6 separate regions of the Homo sapiens genome follow, and regions 1, 2, 3, 5 and 6 are each linked to region 4. The links are contacts of gene promoters, found by promoter capture Hi-C in blood cells and fetal thymus (Javierre and others, 2016). All regions are on one chromosome and are shown on one strand. The core of a region is centred on a gene start or on the middle of the fragment in contact, and the rest is flanking DNA. Distances in the headings are between cores, read along the strand shown. Region 1 overlaps RNLS (renalase, FAD dependent amine oxidase). Region 2 overlaps RNLS (renalase, FAD dependent amine oxidase). Region 3 overlaps RNLS (renalase, FAD dependent amine oxidase). Region 4 holds the start of KLLN (killin, p53 regulated DNA replication inhibitor). Region 5 overlaps RNLS (renalase, FAD dependent amine oxidase). Region 6 overlaps RNLS (renalase, FAD dependent amine oxidase).

Region 1 (2,964 bases), core at 431-2,930, 530 kb after region 4:
TTTTCAGGAAAGCAAATTTATGTGGCAGAAAGGACAAGAGACAGAAGAAGCACGCAAGAAGAAAAGCGAGGAGAACAGAGCAAAAAAAAAAAAAAAAAAAAAAGGAAGATTATTTGTTACAGTGGTGGAGACTGAGACAAAAATGAGAATAACAAGCCTATTTACGTAACTGCTTACAGTTTACAAAGTGCTTTTACATGTAATCATTGATATTGTCTTTACAAAGACCTGCAGGGCTCCCAGAAGTTAAATGGCATGCCCCAGGTCACCCAGCTAGTAAGAAAAATAGTGCATGTCTTCTGGCTAAAAATCTAACACTTTTGATATGGAGCAGGTGTTGTGGAGATAATGATTTAGAGTTGTCCTGTAGGACAGAGGGAAGCAAATGCTCTGACAGCAGAAAAGAAAATCAGAAGGCACGTCAGCCTGTAGTTTAGCGGGCAATGCAGACAGGAGTGAAGGGCTCCCTGTTCTTCACGACCACACACCTTGAAAACATAGATATAGGAAACATCTCTGTGGGTATTTGGAAGGGGAGATGGTTGTGGTACAAATGAAACCTATGTCTAGAGGGCTCAGAGGGCAGTCCTGAATATATTTCCCTGGGGTGTATCACAGTCGCCTTTCATTTAACACGTAGAAGTTGGATACCTAATTATTCCTTCCATCTATCCTTGAAAGCTGTTCCTTCCTCAGGCTTAGTCGACAACATAACCATTCACCCAGTTGCTCAAGCTAAGAACCTGTAAGTCATCTTTGTCTTAATTTTCTTTCCATGTTTAATTTATCAGCAAGTCCTGTAGATTCTACTTCTAAAACACACCTTGAATAAGGCTACTCTGTTCATCTCCATAATCACCATTGTTTTCTCCTTCTGAGCCACTGCAATAACTTGCTATTTGGTTTCAATACTTTCTGGCACCCTGTCTTCCCCAGCTCTTGCCTCCTTCCCTTGAAATCCATTCTCTGGACTATGCCATCCTGCTTAAAACATGCCTGAGAATAATTCAAAATCCTTCCCAGGATCTGGCCCCAGTTTAATTTGCCTCACTCTGCCTAGGACTCACTGTTCTAGCTATGGAGGCCTCCTTTTTGTTATCAGAACACAGCACAGTCTTTCCAGCTGAAGAGACTTAAATATTTTGCTGGTCCCTGTCTCCATGTTATCACATGGCTAGCTCTTTCTCCTATCTCATGCTATCTACACAGACAGTCCTACTCTCACAAGCTGTGTGAGAGTTCCCTTCATTCTCATAGAACCTTTTTATTAACTTTCTGTGACCTCTCAAACTGAAATTACTTATGTTTTTATTTGATTCCTTGTTTATCATCGTCTTTTTATATGACTTCCCCCTACTAGTAATCAAACTCCATTAAGACAAGGATCAGGTCAATTGCCCTCATCACTGTATCCCCAGAGCTTACAACGTGGTACACAGGAGATACTCAATAACTATGTGTCGAATGAATAAGTGAATAAATATCAGGGAATTAACATACCCTACATGTTACATAGTACCATGCATCAGTGGAGCCATGGATATGAGACACTGTGTTTCCTGTTTGTAACCTGTTATTTGTTAATTCCTGTCAGAGTTGAGAGCTCTGATAGTAGCTGCCATCATCTGGGGAGTTCTATGGAATCTTGCCACCATGAGTTCTGGAAAAGGGAATCTGTTTGTGTTGGGACTTGAGGGATGGTATAAATTAACTCCCAAGGTTTATTAGTAGTAAACAATTAAAATCCACCCTGAAATTGGAGCTTTACTAAAGATGGCTATTTTGTAGCATGTAGGAAATTACGATATTGGTTTACCTCCTAGGATTCAAAAAGCATTCATTCTCTTTTGGAGCCAGAAAAGGAGAGGTATGTCTCCTAACAGAACTGTGCTGGGTTTTTTTTTGTTATTGTTGTTTTCTTTTTTTGACAGTCTGTGGAGCTCACACATTGGCCATAATAAAGCCTGCTATCTATTTTTGATTTGTCAAAGTTGTGCTTGAGAGTGATTAACATACCCTTAGCAAAATGAATCATTCTATAGAGATTTAAAAGTCACGATGGAATAAATATCTTGGTCAAAGGTATTGCTGCTTTAATTACATTCATTTGTTTCAATATTTCGGTTTTAGGGATTTCTTAACTGAGTTGTTAAGGATCCTTTTAGGGATTTCTTAACTGAGTTGTTAAGGATCCTTTTGAAAGTGAAGTTTACCATGGTGCCCTCTGGTGGAATGAAATTCGCACAGTTTTTAAAGCTAAAGCCCTATCTAGTGAGAATGCATACAGAAATAAAAGGAGCAACATTAAATACAAATGTCCAAAAACTATAAGCAGGGTACTCTTGCTATTGGGGGACTACAAGATATACCTGCCTCAGAATATTTACAGATTCAGGGATAGGGCATGTAGTTGCTATAAAGGAAGAGCAATGACATAAATACATACAATTCCAAATCCATTAGAAAATGAGGGCCAGAAGCCACAGCATTTCATATCATCTGGCAACACTGACACTGACTAATTAGGTATTATATTGAGAAAGTCAGAAGAAGGTGATGGCAATTACAGCATTTGCAACAATATTCATAAATAGCTAGGAACACAAGGGGGAAATACAATTTGGTTGTGGTCTATCAAGAACCAGTGGATATTCATTTGATAGGACTTTTGTAATTAGGCTCACCATCAAAGCTGATAAAATCATCAAAATGGTAAGTGTCCCAGTGTTGGTTCCTTGAAACTGTGTTGTGACCAGACTTAGTGACTCCTTGATAAAGCAGCTTTCACGTGTCTTCACAAGGAAATAAAGTGAAAGTCTCTGGGACGCTATCTGGGTCACACACCACAGGGATCCTGCTCAGAGGATTTAGAACATTGGACCAGCTCACTAAGGAAAGATGTCAAGGCCCTTCTTTGAGGACCTAAGGAAGTTTTTAATATTCGTTCGTCTGAATGCACTAAAT
Region 2 (2,875 bases), core at 73-2,572, 630 kb after region 4:
TTTTTTTCCTGACAATTTACTTTTTAAAAAATGAGTGATCTATTTGTTCTTGTCATTTTATAAATCAGCTCAAGATTGCTGTATTACATTGTTGCAGGGATAGATCTATGAACTTAGGGGCTTTTTTAAATTGTAGGAGAATACAGTTTCCCTTCCATTTCTCTCTCTCCTTCTCCCTCTCTTTGCTTTTTCACTGTAAGGTCAACAGCTTAAGAGGCACAAATCTCAACTACTGTGATTGTTTCCTTTTATATGATGGGGGATGTAAAGTCATTCAGAGCTGCATCTGTCAGTGGTGCTTTCTACCACTGCTGACGACTGGGTTATAAAAACATTCCTGAACAATTGTGAACATTGGCAGACCATAAACAAAATGGAGAACACTGGAAGACATTCAAACGATGATGTCTTAAATCCTGGCTCTAAAATTAAACTAAAAGAAAACTGATTATCCTTTGTCATGATATGCATGCCAAGAGCCATGCATGATATGCACAGTAGACACACACACAAAAATAAGGTAATAAAAATAAGAAACATATGGATTCTGTTAAAACACATGCATTCACAATGACAGATATTGAAAAGAACAAGGAAAGCAAGAGTTGAGGATATTCAGATTTTGAACAGCACTGTAATTAGCTTCAGAGGAGAGAAAGTTCCACAATAGGAAGTTACACGGAAAAATGTTACATACTGTTTGTAAAATGGTGAAAATATGAAAAAGCTTAGTGGCTTTCACTTCCTTAATAATCAGCATATAAATGGAGTATTTGTTCACCTATCCTTTCAGTAAGACATTTTCTTCAGTCATGCCATGAACAAGTCTCTCTTCTGGGCCAGTGGGGAACAAAAGAATAAGTAAAGAGCTTAAATGTGAGTGAATAAAATTAATAAAAGATTCTGTAATGTAATGGAACCATATTTATTATTTTCTTTTCATTTCATTAAAGTATTTACTTGAACCTCTACTTACTTTTAGAAAATATTCATTGCATTGTTTCTAAGGTGACTCAAGATTATTCAGAAATTATGTGTTAAGTTTTTCTGAATATGAATGGTACATATTCAAAAACCAGCCTGGTGGAGGAACTATTTTCAAGGAGTAATATTACCAGTGTGAAGGAGATATATCAGAAGAGGATTAGAGTTGGGCCTAGAGACCTTGGCCAACTTGTGGTACCAATGTTCACCAATTGTGTGATTTGGAAGCAACTCTGATAGGTGCCTGCCAAATTTAGTGGTGAACCCTTTCTCTAGACCAGACTTAAGTTTTGGTTCTTTTAAATTAAACAGTTCAGCAGAAATTTCAGGACATCAAGAAAACAGCCAAGGGTTACTCTGAGGTCCCTATATTCTTTACTCAGGAGAATAAGTAACAACATTCAACTACTGCCACTTCCTTCCTATGTCTGAAAAAGTCCAGGCATCCTTCCCCAAATTTTTACAGGTTTGACACTTAGATTCGCCTCTAATTCAGCAACTACTTTGAAGGGGAAAGATGTCCTATATATTTTTTATAACCTCTCCTACAACAGATATAATTCCTAGTGATGACAGCAAATCCTATTTCCATTACCTAATTTTAGATATGTTAAACATCCCACTCTTTTTTTAAGAAGCAATGTTAAATAATAAACTGGTACAACTTCTGGACAAAGATTTTTGTACAGGGACTTTCCAAGCATTGCATGTTTTACTTGTTGCAAAAATATGAAAGTTATCTTTCTAAGAAAGGTACACACAGATGTTGATATGACTTGAGAAAAATAGTCAATAGAGTCAATTTGTTATCTCCATCTTTAGCTGCAAGAGGGAGGGGGGATCATTAGATAAACCAAGTATGACAAGGAGGCTTTGGGTCTATAACTCTTATGGCAAATGGTTATATTATGTTAGACAAGTAGATTAAACTTTGCAAGCTTCAGATATTATCTTTGTAAAAAAGTGTATATAATACATCTGCTCTCATTACCGCACAAGGATTATGTCAAAGTAATCTCCATTTAAGTGAGTGGAACATACTGAAAAGAAATCAAAAAGGGCTACCAGTGGGGGATGAGAGAGGAGGAAAATTTGCAGAGAAGGAGAGAATATAGAAATGGAAATGAGAGAGAGCAGTGTATTGAGAGGAGGGCAGCATAAGAATGAGTAAAGAAGAGTGGGGCAGGGATGGGATGAGAAATGGAAGGGATATGGAAAACTGGTTTGGGTTTAGCTAGGGCAAAGCCCAAGTGACAAGGAATCCGTGGTTAAAGGCAGTATGACTGGAAATGAGCGAATTTAGGAATATGCATCTCAGCATTTTTTTCTTTTGGTTCAGGATTTTGGTGAGTGTCAGGTGTCGGCTTCAAGTGGGAATTTTGAAAGAAAAAAAGACAGAACATATTTGAAAAACTGGGGCAGGATAGAGGAAGGCAGCTTTAAAAAGTCGTGGTTGGGGATGCAGAAGACAAAAAGGGAAATAAGACAAACATTTTTAACTTGTCTGTTTTGCTTTCCATATGGGTTGCAGAAGGCAAAGGGGACAGAAGGAAGAGGGGAGAGAACATTTATGCAGCTTCTGGAAGGGGAGAAGTACCCCAGAAAAACACTTGTAAGGGAAAACAATTTGAAATTATCTATGAAAGGTAGAGAGCAATTACCCAACAGACAGAGTGGTTATAGACAAGACTGTATGAATCCAAGCCAGTAATTAAAACCCCAGGAATTAAGGAATTGATAAGATCTTCAAGTTGTAAAACTGGGTTCCCTCAGGGGATTATATTATGAGAAAAGAACCGAAAATTTCCAAGAGAACTATTTAGAATTTCATTAACCTGGCAAATGCTAAACCCAGTGCACGCTTCAGGAATGCCATAGCAGAAGGAAGAAG
Region 3 (3,083 bases), core at 504-3,003, 710 kb after region 4:
GCACTTTCAACACATATCCACCATCTCCTTTATTCCAACAAGGGCAGCTCTGCTTCACTCTGTTTTTATTTATTTAGGATGCCTCACCCTACTTGCCTCACTTAGTCCATGGCCCTGTCCCAGACCTCAGCTAAGTTAACTGATTCTACGTTTTCTCATAATATTCCTTTGAAGAGAACAATATGCTGTTATTGTTGGTGGTATGAGTGTGTGTTTAAGGGGACTTAAGTTCACAGTCCTAGAAAATTCTTCATGCCCCAGATGAACGCCTTGAAAATGTATCCCAATGGCCACAAGGTGTTCTGCAAAGTATATATATATATATATATATATATATATATATATACACACACACACACACACACATATTATATATATATACTATATATATATGTGTGTGTATATATATATATATATATACACATATATATACACCAAGGTGTATATGTATATGTGTGTGTGTGTGTGTATATATATATATGTCAGTGGTTCTCTAAGTATGAACCCCAGACCAGCAGCACCTATGTACTAGAAAATGCACATTCCTGGGCCCCAACCCGACCATACTGAATAAGAAACTCTGGGAATTGAGCCTCGCAATCCATGTTTAACAAGCTCCCTTAGTCTTGTCATGATGCGCGCTAAAGTATGAGAACCACTGGGGTAGGTGGACACGCCCAAATCAAACACCACTGGCAAAACCACCCAAAAAGCAGCATTTATCAAGAGGTAGGAGAAATGGTATAGCCTCTCTTATTAACCAGAAAGGCTTCCTTTCCAACTGCTTGGAGCAAAGTTTTTGGGAAAGTGGCATTTCCTTGTGAAAGTAATTAATAACTTTCACAAAGACTATGTGTTTAAATCTATAAGCTCTGAAAAACCCAATTTTAAAATGGATAAATAAATAGTCTCAAGAGTTATGTCTGAGCTTAGTAAATTTGACCATGTCCCTCTCTTGCATAAAACCCTTCAATGGCTTCCCATCGCACTTAGAGTATAAAATCTTTAACATTGCTTACAAAGCCCTGTATAACCTGGCCCTGCCTTAGTCTTGAGCATCATCTTTTACCATTTTCTCCCTCACTCACTACCGTCCAGTCATAATGATCTTTTATTCCTTGAATGCACTAACCTCCTCCTACTGCTTCAAAACAGTTCCAATTTGATGTGTCCACTGCATTGAACTCTCATCATTCAGCTCTCAGCCTAATTCCCTCTTGCCCACCTTTCAGGTACCCATGAAAATATCAGTTCCTCAGGGATGCTTTCCCTAACACATCTCCCCCATCACTCCTCTAAAACCTACTGGGCTAGGTCCTTTTATTGTAAGTTCTCTCATAATGCTCTCACTCTTTCTTCTTAACATTTATCATGCATCTTTTCTTTGTATGTATAATTAGTTTAATGTCTTTTCTTCCCACTATACTCTACATTAACAGAGGCCAGGATCATGTCTCTTATTGACTTTTGTTTCCCCAGCACATAATATTTAATTAGAATAAAATGATCTTCAGATAGCTATAAAGATATCAGAAGTCTAAGAAGGTTTAAACATTTTACAAAGGCAAATGTGTTTCTGTTATATATTTATTCAATTTTATCCCTGGCCTTCCTCCATTTTAAGGAGAAAATCCAAGTTTATGTTTCTCCTATGATTTCCCACAAATAGGTTTTAGTGAGCAGCAGTCAGAACTGCTCAGGTGGGACCTGAAGTGATGTGAACCATCTCTAACTGACTACACAGCTTGAAGTAAATAGAAGAATGCTTAACCTGGTTTTCATGCCATCCTCTAGCTTCTCTAAAAAGGACATCGTTACGGATGAGTGCCAGGATCACCTGCTGGGAGAAATTTTGAGACAGAACCACCCAGACTCACTTCCCCTCTATCAATTTTAGAAAGAAAATAGGCACAAAAGTAAAAAGAGAGAGAATAATAAAAGTAAATATTACAATACAGAAGCCATCCTAGCTAATGGCATCTGCCACCTAAACCATTTTTTTCTAATAAATTGATCTTGTCAATTTTGACAGGTTACTTTGCAAATGTTGACTTTCTGGATCGCTAGCCAATGTCCTTTTTAGGTAGATGATAAAATAAAAACAAATAAATGCAGCAACAGCCCTCCCTATTGGTAGGACAAGCTAAATAAAAGCTGCTCACTCTGTGTCCTGGAAGCTAAATTCATCTTTTTTGAATAATTTAGTAACATGGGACCTTATTCAAAAGCAAAAGGACCTGGCCCATCATTTTCCATGTCATAGGCAGGAACCATCAGGTGACCAATTTCCCAGGTTGCATAAAGAACTAAGGTGGTATTACTCTTCAATATCCACTTCCCCCTATGTCAGGAATTAACTGATGAAAGAGGGAAACTAGGGGCACAGGGAACTATGAGGTTGTTCTATTGAACCATGTGTCTACTGACACGTAGCACCAGGTGGGATGGGTACAATCTTCATACTATAGGAAAATAATCAATAAGGAAAGAGAAGGCTCTACAAAATAGATGTTAAATTGGAGAGTATGAGCACCTCTCATTGCCCTCCATGAGAGACTTAATAGAAAAAAACAACATGATTAATTGCAAAGGCACTTCAGTTCTGTTACCAACTAGCCAAGCCACCTTAGACAAAGTACCTGAGTCTCATTCTTCGCATTAACAAATAGGGATGATGATTAACTCCCTTGAAAATTTACTGTGAGAATTAGAAACTACATACGTAAAGTACCTCAGGTAGTATTAGATAAATAGTCAGCACTTAATAACTGATAGCTAGAATCACTTTTGCTATTGTCAATTCTCACCCCAGCATAATGACAACTAGTATAAAAAAAGAACAAAAGAAAATCATGTTTCACTCACTCAAGAAGATTGTATTAATGGAGAAGGCAGGCAGTCAGTGAAATTGATGCCAATAAATACAGCTTTCTCTGCAATGAGGTTAATGTGAACACATCGGACAATAAATTAAAATAGAACATAAGGTCAAGAAGAAAGCATCTATTTCCTTTACCTTTTACTATTTGTTCTGGGAAATTGGTCTAGTTAAATATTGGCTTTAAAGGTTTGAACCTATTCTA
Region 4 (2,979 bases), core at 22-2,521:
ATTTGGAAAGTTCCCCAACTAGGGACACACGTGACCTCCTTCGGAAAGTAGTTCCGACTGTGGCCCGTGTATCCTTCCACCTCCTTTTGAACCCTCCTAGGTCTCCTCGCCCCGCCCACTCGCTGGGCTGCAGCTTCCTACCGTTCCGTACTTTCCACTCAACCCGGTAACCCCAAACGTGCACGGTCCGGCCGGGGCGCGCGGAGCCTGGCCCCGGGCGATCCATCCTGCCGGGTTTTCACGGCGGCCAAGGGGGGGCGGGGCTAGGTGGTCTCTGAGAACCGAGCTTGACTCCGACGCCGCGAACCGACCTGGAGCCCGAGGGGAAAGATGCTCGACTCTCTTGGGGGCACCGGAGCGGGCGCAGGAGAGGCCTGCGGGGTGCGTCCCACTCACAGGGATCCTCTTTCAGTTCATTTAGATAGGTGCCCTTTGGGCCCTTGAAATTCAACGGCTATGTGTTCACGTTCAGCACGCTCGGCTGAGAGCTTTCATTTTTAGGGCAAACGAGCCGAGTTACCGGGGAAGCGAGAGGTGGGGCGCTGCAAGGGAGCCGGATGAGGTGATACACGCTGGCGACACAATAGCAGGTTGCTCTTTGTGCTAAGACTGACACCATGAGGACACAGATTTGGGGGAAGGGGGAATCTCTAGGCAAAGGCTGTTACAGTCAAATCTCTGCGAACGATTGTGATCCGACAGCGGTGCAAAAGGAAAGAGCGAATGCAGTCCACGCCGCGGAAATCTAGGGGTAGAGGCAAGGGGGGAGGGTATTCCCCTTGCAGGGACCGTCCCTGCATTTCCCTCTACACTGAGCAGCGTGGTCACCTGGTCCTTTTCACCTGTGCACAGGTAACCTCAGACTCGAGTCAGTGACACTGCTCAACGCACCCATCTCAGCTTTCATCATCAGTCCTCCACCCCCGCCCCACAACAGCCTACCCTGCCTCCGGCTGGGTTTCTGGGCAGAGGCCGAGGCTTAGCTCGTTATCCTCGCCTCGCGTTGCTGCAAAAGCCGCAGCAAGTGCAGCTGCAGGCTGGCGGCTGGGAACCGGCCCGAGCAAGCCCCAGGCAGCTACACTGGGCATGCTCAGTAGAGCCTGCGGCTTGGGGACTCTGCGCTCGCACCCAGAGCTACCGCTCTGCCCCCTCCTACCGCCCCCTGCCCTGCCCTGCCCTCCCCTCGCCCGGCGCGGTCCCGTCCGCCTCTCGCTCGCCTCCCGCCTCCCCTCGGTCTTCCGAGGCGCCCGGGCTCCCGGCGCGGCGGCGGAGGGGGCGGGCAGGCCGGCGGGCGGTGATGTGGCGGGACTCTTTATGCGCTGCGGCAGGATACGCGCTCGGCGCTGGGACGCGACTGCGCTCAGTTCTCTCCTCTCGGAAGCTGCAGCCATGATGGAAGTTTGAGAGTTGAGCCGCTGTGAGGCGAGGCCGGGCTCAGGCGAGGGAGATGAGAGACGGCGGCGGCCGCGGCCCGGAGCCCCTCTCAGCGCCTGTGAGCAGCCGCGGGGGCAGCGCCCTCGGGGAGCCGGCCGGCCTGCGGCGGCGGCAGCGGCGGCGTTTCTCGCCTCCTCTTCGTCTTTTCTAACCGTGCAGCCTCTTCCTCGGCTTCTCCTGAAAGGGAAGGTGGAAGCCGTGGGCTCGGGCGGGAGCCGGCTGAGGCGCGGCGGCGGCGGCGGCACCTCCCGCTCCTGGAGCGGGGGGGAGAAGCGGCGGCGGCGGCGGCCGCGGCGGCTGCAGCTCCAGGGAGGGGGTCTGAGTCGCCTGTCACCATTTCCAGGGCTGGGAACGCCGGAGAGTTGGTCTCTCCCCTTCTACTGCCTCCAACACGGCGGCGGCGGCGGCTGGCACATCCAGGGACCCGGGCCGGTTTTAAACCTCCCGTGCGCCGCCGCCGCACCCCCCGTGGCCCGGGCTCCGGAGGCCGCCGGCGGAGGCAGCCGTTCGGAGGATTATTCGTCTTCTCCCCATTCCGCTGCCGCCGCTGCCAGGCCTCTGGCTGCTGAGGAGAAGCAGGCCCAGTCGCTGCAACCATCCAGCAGCCGCCGCAGCAGCCATTACCCGGCTGCGGTCCAGAGCCAAGCGGCGGCAGAGCGAGGGGCATCAGCTACCGCCAAGTCCAGAGCCATTTCCATCCTGCAGAAGAAGCCCCGCCACCAGCAGCTTCTGCCATCTCTCTCCTCCTTTTTCTTCAGCCACAGGCTCCCAGACATGACAGCCATCATCAAAGAGATCGTTAGCAGAAACAAAAGGAGATATCAAGAGGATGGATTCGACTTAGACTTGACCTGTATCCATTTCTGCGGCTGCTCCTCTTTACCTTTCTGTCACTCTCTTAGAACGTGGGAGTAGACGGATGCGAAAATGTCCGTAGTTTGGGTGACTATAACATTTAACCCTGGTCAGGTTGCTAGGTCATATATTTTGTGTTTCCTTTCTGTGTATTCAACCTAGGGTGTGTTTGGCTAGACGGAACTCTTGCCTGGTTGCAAGTGTCAAGCCACCGATTGCTTTCTTAGGCTATCTATATGGTCTCTTCCTGAGGGCTATTGTCCGTTAATACAGAATACAGTACACTGTTAGTGGATTAGCGAGCTCGGTAATCCGGTCTCCTAAATGAACAAAAAAGTAGACGCTTTTTGAGGTTGAGCATATTTCGATTAAATCTTGGCTTAGGCCCTAGATCAAGGGTTTAGATCAGAATAAAATGAAAATTAGTGTTGCACGTACGCATATTGCATCAGAATCTTGCAGTGATTGTTTTAGTTTCCTGAGTTGCATTGATAGATTCTTTTAAAATATGACTGATTTGCATAACTTTAGAAGCAGAATCATTTTCAGTATATATGGTGCACATTGAGGGCAAAAAGTAGTTTTGTTAATGTTTAAACTTAAGTTACCTACAACTTTGAACTGTATGTAGAAGTTTTGTAGTTTGAAGTCAATAGTGCCATAATATACCTTATAAGGCGTTCTTACTAG
Region 5 (3,032 bases), core at 513-3,012, 670 kb after region 4:
ATTAACTTAAGAAGGGACTAAGGACTGACATGATATTTTAAGAAATGAAATAATAAGAAGGTGCTCTAGGTAAAACTGAGTTTCTAGAATACTTTTTCATGAAATATTTATGTTGGTGCTGCAAAAGTCAAAATCATGTTATTGAATTATTCTGTCATACAATTGTTAGAAAATTGTGCCCCAACAAAATAAACATTTAATTGCTCTTTGTATATTCTAAGAATTAGCACATAATTTCAATTACAACCTAAATTTATTAATTATAAGTAAATAAACATGTTTGTAATGTATAATCTTTAGTTTCATTTTTCAAGTTAGAGTGCCAGTCAATTCTCTTATTCTTATTTATTAAGAAATGTTGGCCACAGCTTGGCCTTTTCTTTAGTACAAATCATCATTGGTTAAAGAGCACCACCAAGTATTACTTTTGGCTGAGGATAGAATAAAAGGATAAAAGGAGGCAGCCTTGAAGGATGAACTGAGTCTTAACAGAAACATGGAAATACTTTCTAAAGAAAAAAACAGTGTTAGAAAAAAGATACAGAAATGGAAACATATAGACATGTCAAGAAGAAAAGAAATACTTTGATTTGACCTTAAAGGTCAGTTGAAATCAGATTTTTAAAAGGGTTTTGAAGACCCAATTTTAGTCCATAAGCACTGGGGAACCCCTCAAAGTTTATTTGCACAGGAGAGCAAAATTACCTAAGGTACTGTTAGGAATAGTACTTTAGTTTCAGTTGTGAGGATGGAGTGAAGTGGGATTTGACTAACGATAGGCAGATCCCTTAAAGGGCTTCTATAGAAGTGCAGGCAAGAGGTAAGGGAAGCAGGGGATTCTGACAGACAGAATGACAAGACAGGGAGTGACACTGCACTGAACATGAAGAGAGAAACAGGTTTGGTGAGGACAGTGATGTCTAAAGTAACCATACACAAGTAGAATCCCACAAATAGTCTAAACCCTAGGTCTAAATCTTGGAGGAGAAATCAGTCTAAAAATAAAGATTTGAAATCTTCAGCACGGAAAGCCTTGGGGTAGATGAAATTGCTAATGAAGGGAGCAACGAAAACGAAGGTCCAAGACAAAGCCTTGAAAATTGCCTATATTTTAGGAGGAGAGAGAAGAAATAACTAACAAAGAAGGAAGAGAAGGTGTGATTAGAGTTAGAAGTAGAACAAGGAGAGTTTCAATCCTGATTAGCTAAGGGAAGAAGAAATTTATAAAGAAGGCACTGAAACAAGGAAGGCAGACTATAGGCTAATTTAGATGTCATGATGAGGAGGTCACTGGGGATGGCCTTTAAGAGAATGATTTAGCAAAGGACAAACAAAAGTGGTTTAAATTTGTTTTATGGACTGGAGACCTGCAGCATTATGTAACATAGAAGCCCTGAATTAGGCAACATTTAGCAAGAGTTCTACCCTTGGCTCCCCTGTGTAGCTGTGTGACCTAATACTGGTCATATAAATCCTCTGGACATGAACATCCTCACCTTTTAAAATAGGAGACAGCAGAGGCTTGAAATAGGGAATTGCTCTGAGCTGGCATTTCATACTAACTACAATTATAAGAAATAATAAAAAATTATTCTTCAATAAATAAAGATTTTAGAAGTTATTAAAAGCATTGGCTTGAGAGTCAGATACACCTGAGATTGGTGCTAGCTTGAACCCCTAATAGTACTGAAGAAGTGGTTTAATCTCTAAACCGTGGATTCCTCTTGTGTCAATGAAATCAGTATCAGCAATTCCATCATAGGCTGTGTTGAGAATTACACAAGCCATGAAAAGATAACAGTATAGTTCCTGGACTCTAAAAAGGCTTCATAAATATTTGTTGGCTAAATGAATAAATCTCAACTTGTATTCTTAGAAAGGACCAAAAGCAGGATAGAATCCTGTGAGGAAACATCATCTGGAGGAGATGAGACCTTGAAATAAATAGGAAATGTGGGAGTTGGAGGGAGACATTTACATGGACACTAACAGACAGTCAGGTATCAGCTGGGTTCAAATATAAGCACTGTCATTTAGTAGCAGTGTGACTTGAGCAAGTCACCTAATCCTAAACCTTGGAGACAGAAAAAATCAAAGCAAAAATGGCAAATACTTTACATAAATAAATATGAGAGACGGGTCCCTGAGTGTCAGTTATATTGTTCATGGGTTTTTAAAAATACATTTGTAACATTTCATAATTAAAAAGTTTTGATCAATTGGGGCAATAATATCTATATAACATGAGGATTAAATAAAGTAATATTAAAAATCATGACAGTGTTTTTCACATAGTTCTCAATAAATGGTTACTGCTATTTCTTACTGTAAGTATTGTTATTTTCCCATTCTAGGAGGAGACAGGATTAAAGACAAACAATGGAACAAACACAAGTGTGTAATGTGTATAAGTGAGTATGTGTGGTGAGAGGAGGGTAGTGAACAAAGCAGAGATAAAATCAGGTTGACTGAAACCAAGAAGGCAGTCTGGGAGTAGTTGTATAGGTTGGAAACGGGAGAGGGAAGAAGGACTTATTATACAGAAGGTTTTAAAAGCCAGGTAGTGGGGGAGGGGTTGGGGGAGGGAGAACATCAGGAAGAATAGTTAATGGATGCTGGGCTTAATACCTAGGAGATGGGATGATCTGTTCAGCAAACCACCATGGCACACGTTTACCTACGTAACAAACCTGCACATCCTGCACATGTACCCCTGAACTTAAAAGTTGGAAAAAAAAAGATAAAAAAAACCTAGGTAGTAGGACTCATTACTGATAAAATAAACAATAATGAGTCCCTACAGCTGAAGTTTGGGTCAGGGGAAATACAAAATGAGAGTAGTGCTTGAAGAGTCAAATGATAGAAATAATAAACTAGAGTAGAAGAAAGTGTTGAGAAACTATCTCAGTAACTCAAGTCAAGAGGAACCACAGCTAGGATTCTAGGGAAGGTTGAAAGTGGAAATGGCATATCTCAGATGAACCTTTTCTTAGAAAGAAATCTGCAAAGAAATAAGATGACTTAAAGGCTAT
Region 6 (2,705 bases), core at 140-2,639, 560 kb after region 4:
TTGAAATGTTTCATTGTAAAATAAACAATTCTTCAGTAGAGTTTTTGTTAGTACATAAAACTAGACTTAGAGTAAAGTTAAATGCCTTTTCCCCACTACCCCTGCCCCAAAGCATAAATAAAACAAAAATTAAAAGATGCATCAAACCAAATACAAATAAAGCAAAAAGTCAAAAGGAGCTAATAAAGTTGAAACTGCTGGCAACTTCTGTCTTTGTCCTAATGTGTTTCTGTACAATGAATCTTCCTATTTACCCACAAATTAATGTTTTCATTATGCTGCATTTAGTTTTATATTGCCTGGCAGTATGTCTAAGGTGGCTTTGAGTAAGCCACCTCATTAACAATGATTTATTGGGTATTCCACCTAGTATGAGGTACAGAAGTATAAGACATGATCATTGCTCTCAAGGAATTTAAAATCTGTTTAAGTATTTTTCTTAAAAATGATAGCTAAAAATACAAAACTGTATGTGTTAAGTGACAGCTAATTGGTTTAGACATCAGCTGCTATAGAAGGTTAGAAAAAGGTGAAATGACTTACACTTAGGGTAGAGAAAAAAACGTTGATGTGAGGTGTGAGCTAAAGATTCAGATAAGTAGAAAAAGACATTCCAAAAAGAATGGTAAGAGTAGGGCACAGATACAGGAAAACACAAAGTGTGTTTGGAGTAGGGGGTCAATGAACTGTGGCAGGAATGATAAAATTAGGGAGGGAGAAAGACCTAGAATAGAATGCACAAGTGTCCCTGAAAATTTTAAAGTTCCAGAATTATCCCAAAACTAACTTGGAAGTTTACTCTGTTGCTGGACAGAGGGCTAGAATAGTATACTTTCAATATGACTTCATTCATTCATTTAGTTTGTTATATGGCAGTTTAGCGGTATGTGTATTAGGTGCTGTAGACACAATGAAATTAGAATATGGCTCTTTGTACTCAAGAAGATCACAGTCTAATGTGGAACACAGAGAAGTACACAAGAATTAAAACCCATACTGAAGGTCATACCATGTCAAACTTGGGGCACATTTGGCAGTTCACCAAAATCCTGTTCCAATGAAGTAGGCTCATGTGAATAGTGGGAAACACAGAATAGAGGCCAAGGAGGGAGTCATCATCATTTATGTCTTCAATATTGTAACATAGGACATTTGTACTGACAACTTATGAGGGCTGTAAGTTATATATAGAAAACATTCCCCCCAATTCCCCCTTTTTTTACTGTTGGGAAAAAGAAAAGGAGGAGATACAGGGAAAAAAAATTCACAAGAGGAAGTCAGGCCCCCTTAATAAGCAAATGTTTTTAGAAGAGAAAAAAGATGAAGAAATTTTGTTATTTCTAATTGCTAGCATTTAATCATAGCTATCACTCACAGATCACATACTACTTGCCTGGCACTGTTCTAGATGCTTTGCATGTATTAACTCAGTTACCACAACAACCCCATGAGACAGGTACTATTATTATCCCCTTCCATACATACCTTCTTAGAGATGGCCAAGGCACCAAAGACAGTAAGGAGGAGGAGCCAGGGTTCAAGTTCAGCCCTGTTCTTAACCAGCACATAACACAGCTTTCTCATAAGTGTGAAGATCCTAGGGGGTAACAGTAGTACATGGGGAGGGGAAGCCCTCAGAAAGATGTCAGATAAAGATCAGTTAAACCTAAGAAAAGCTAAAATGGGTGGAGTAAATTGATGGGAAGAGCCTACATTATTTTACTTTGTAATGGTGGTTAGAATTACATAAACAGGAAATGGTTTCCTTTTAGTAACTAATAAAAACAGTATCTAATATTGATTAAGCATCTATATGTGTCTGGTACTCCCCACAGGTACCATTATTACCACCATTTTGCAAAAAGAAAATTGGAGATTCGTGGTTAAATAGAAAGAGGTTTGTTTAATCTTTATCACAATTCACACAGTTAGCAAGGACTAGTGCGTCTAATCTTTACTACCACACTATACTCATTATCCCTACAATTACCTTATGGTTATCAGCCTTGTGGATTCTACTGATCTGTTAGAATGCCAAAAGTCCTACTGTGCTGGAGTGGAATCAGGGTATGGCATTGAGGGGTAAGTCTATATTTCTTTGACAGGGTGGCTGGCTCTTTATGGCATTTCAGAACAAGAAGAATTATTTGAGATTTTGGATAATCCATGTCTCTGCCTCCATCCAAGGGTGGACAATTGTTGATCTCTTTCCAATATCTAATATTTGCATATTAACTGCTCTTTCTCTTAAAGTAAGATATTTCACCTACCTGACACATTTCAACTTGTAAACTCCAGATGCAGGCATGAAAATCATATCTCTTTTCAAGTTCAAAGAACAGAAAACCATAATCAACTATAGTACAGGAATTGGAGATTGCATTATTCCTGTTGAATTCTGGTGGCCAAATAAAAATCTACTTACTATTTGATACAAATAAAGGAAAATGTATCAACAACTCCATAGAACAGAGAGAAATCAGTCATATTCTTAAAGTCATTAAAGGGAAAAGATACAAATGATGTTGATTGGATATCTTCCATATGCTGTGCATTTGACATACTTTATAGTAACTCATGTTGTTCTCAGAATGATCCATGGCTTATGATCTCACTTCATATAGGAAGCAACTGAACTACAGCATGGTTAAGTAAGTTCCTCCCAGTCAAAAAGCTGAGTAGCAGAGACAGCTTAGATATGCTTA

The links. The method cuts DNA at HindIII sites, captures the fragments that hold promoters and counts their contacts. A CHiCAGO score of 5 or more calls a contact.
Region 1: a contact is called between a fragment that was not itself captured here and the fragment with the promoter of KLLN in region 4, in 17 of 17 cell types (naive CD8 T cells, M2 macrophages, naive CD4 T cells and 14 more). The highest score is 35.0, in naive CD8 T cells.
Region 2: a fragment that was not itself captured here is called in contact with the fragment with the promoter of KLLN in region 4 in 2 of 17 cell types (total B cells and naive B cells); the score reaches 5.6 in total B cells.
Region 3: a contact is called between a fragment that was not itself captured here and the fragment with the promoter of KLLN in region 4, in 4 of 17 cell types (naive B cells, naive CD8 T cells, total B cells and 1 more). The highest score is 8.0, in naive B cells.
Region 5: a fragment that was not itself captured here is called in contact with the fragment with the promoter of KLLN in region 4 in 5 of 17 cell types (naive B cells, total B cells, fetal thymus and 2 more); the score reaches 8.4 in naive B cells.
Region 6: a fragment that was not itself captured here is called in contact with the fragment with the promoter of KLLN in region 4 in 2 of 17 cell types (neutrophils and naive B cells); the score reaches 7.3 in neutrophils.

What each region holds. Positions count from the first base shown.
Region 1 is chr10:88,387,422-88,390,385 of GRCh38, forward strand. All of the region lies in intron 4 of RNLS (renalase, FAD dependent amine oxidase), which reads right to left. Among named protein-coding and RNA genes, the nearest start is that of RNLS, 190 kb to the right of the region's middle. The HindIII fragment of the contact is 5,387 bases long and covers 1-2,964 here.
Region 2 is chr10:88,493,543-88,496,417 of GRCh38, forward strand. The region is part of intron 4 of RNLS (renalase, FAD dependent amine oxidase); the gene reads right to left. Among named protein-coding and RNA genes, the nearest start is that of RNLS, 88 kb to the right of the region's middle. The HindIII fragment of the contact is 1,195 bases long and covers 726-1,920 here.
Region 3 is chr10:88,574,815-88,577,897 of GRCh38, forward strand. The region is part of intron 3 of RNLS (renalase, FAD dependent amine oxidase); the gene reads right to left. Among named protein-coding and RNA genes, the nearest start is that of RNLS, 7.0 kb to the right of the region's middle. The HindIII fragment of the contact is 4,346 bases long and covers 1-3,083 here.
Region 4 is chr10:87,862,262-87,865,240 of GRCh38, forward strand. It overlaps KLLN (killin, p53 regulated DNA replication inhibitor), which reads right to left and starts at 1,272. Exons shown (of 1, transcript NM_001126049.2): 1 at 1-1,272. The coding sequence starts at 226. It overlaps MLDHR (mitochondrial lactate dehydrogenase regulator), which reads left to right and starts at 1,298. Exons shown (of 1, transcript NM_001433720.1): 1 at 1,298-1,393. The coding sequence starts at 1,298. The coding sequence ends at 1,393. It overlaps PTEN (phosphatase and tensin homolog), which reads left to right and starts at 1,364. Exons shown (of 9, transcript NM_000314.8): 1 at 1,364-2,287. The coding sequence starts at 2,209. RefSeq lists enhancers at 1-88, 339-518 and silencers at 1,119-1,428, 1,519-1,658. The HindIII fragment of the contact is 7,182 bases long and covers 1-2,979 here.
Region 5 is chr10:88,532,868-88,535,899 of GRCh38, forward strand. The region is part of intron 4 of RNLS (renalase, FAD dependent amine oxidase); the gene reads right to left. Among named protein-coding and RNA genes, the nearest start is that of RNLS, 49 kb to the right of the region's middle. The HindIII fragment of the contact is 5,160 bases long and covers 1-3,032 here.
Region 6 is chr10:88,425,230-88,427,934 of GRCh38, forward strand. All of the region lies in intron 4 of RNLS (renalase, FAD dependent amine oxidase), which reads right to left. Among named protein-coding and RNA genes, the nearest start is that of RNLS, 160 kb to the right of the region's middle. The HindIII fragment of the contact is 4,896 bases long and covers 1-2,705 here.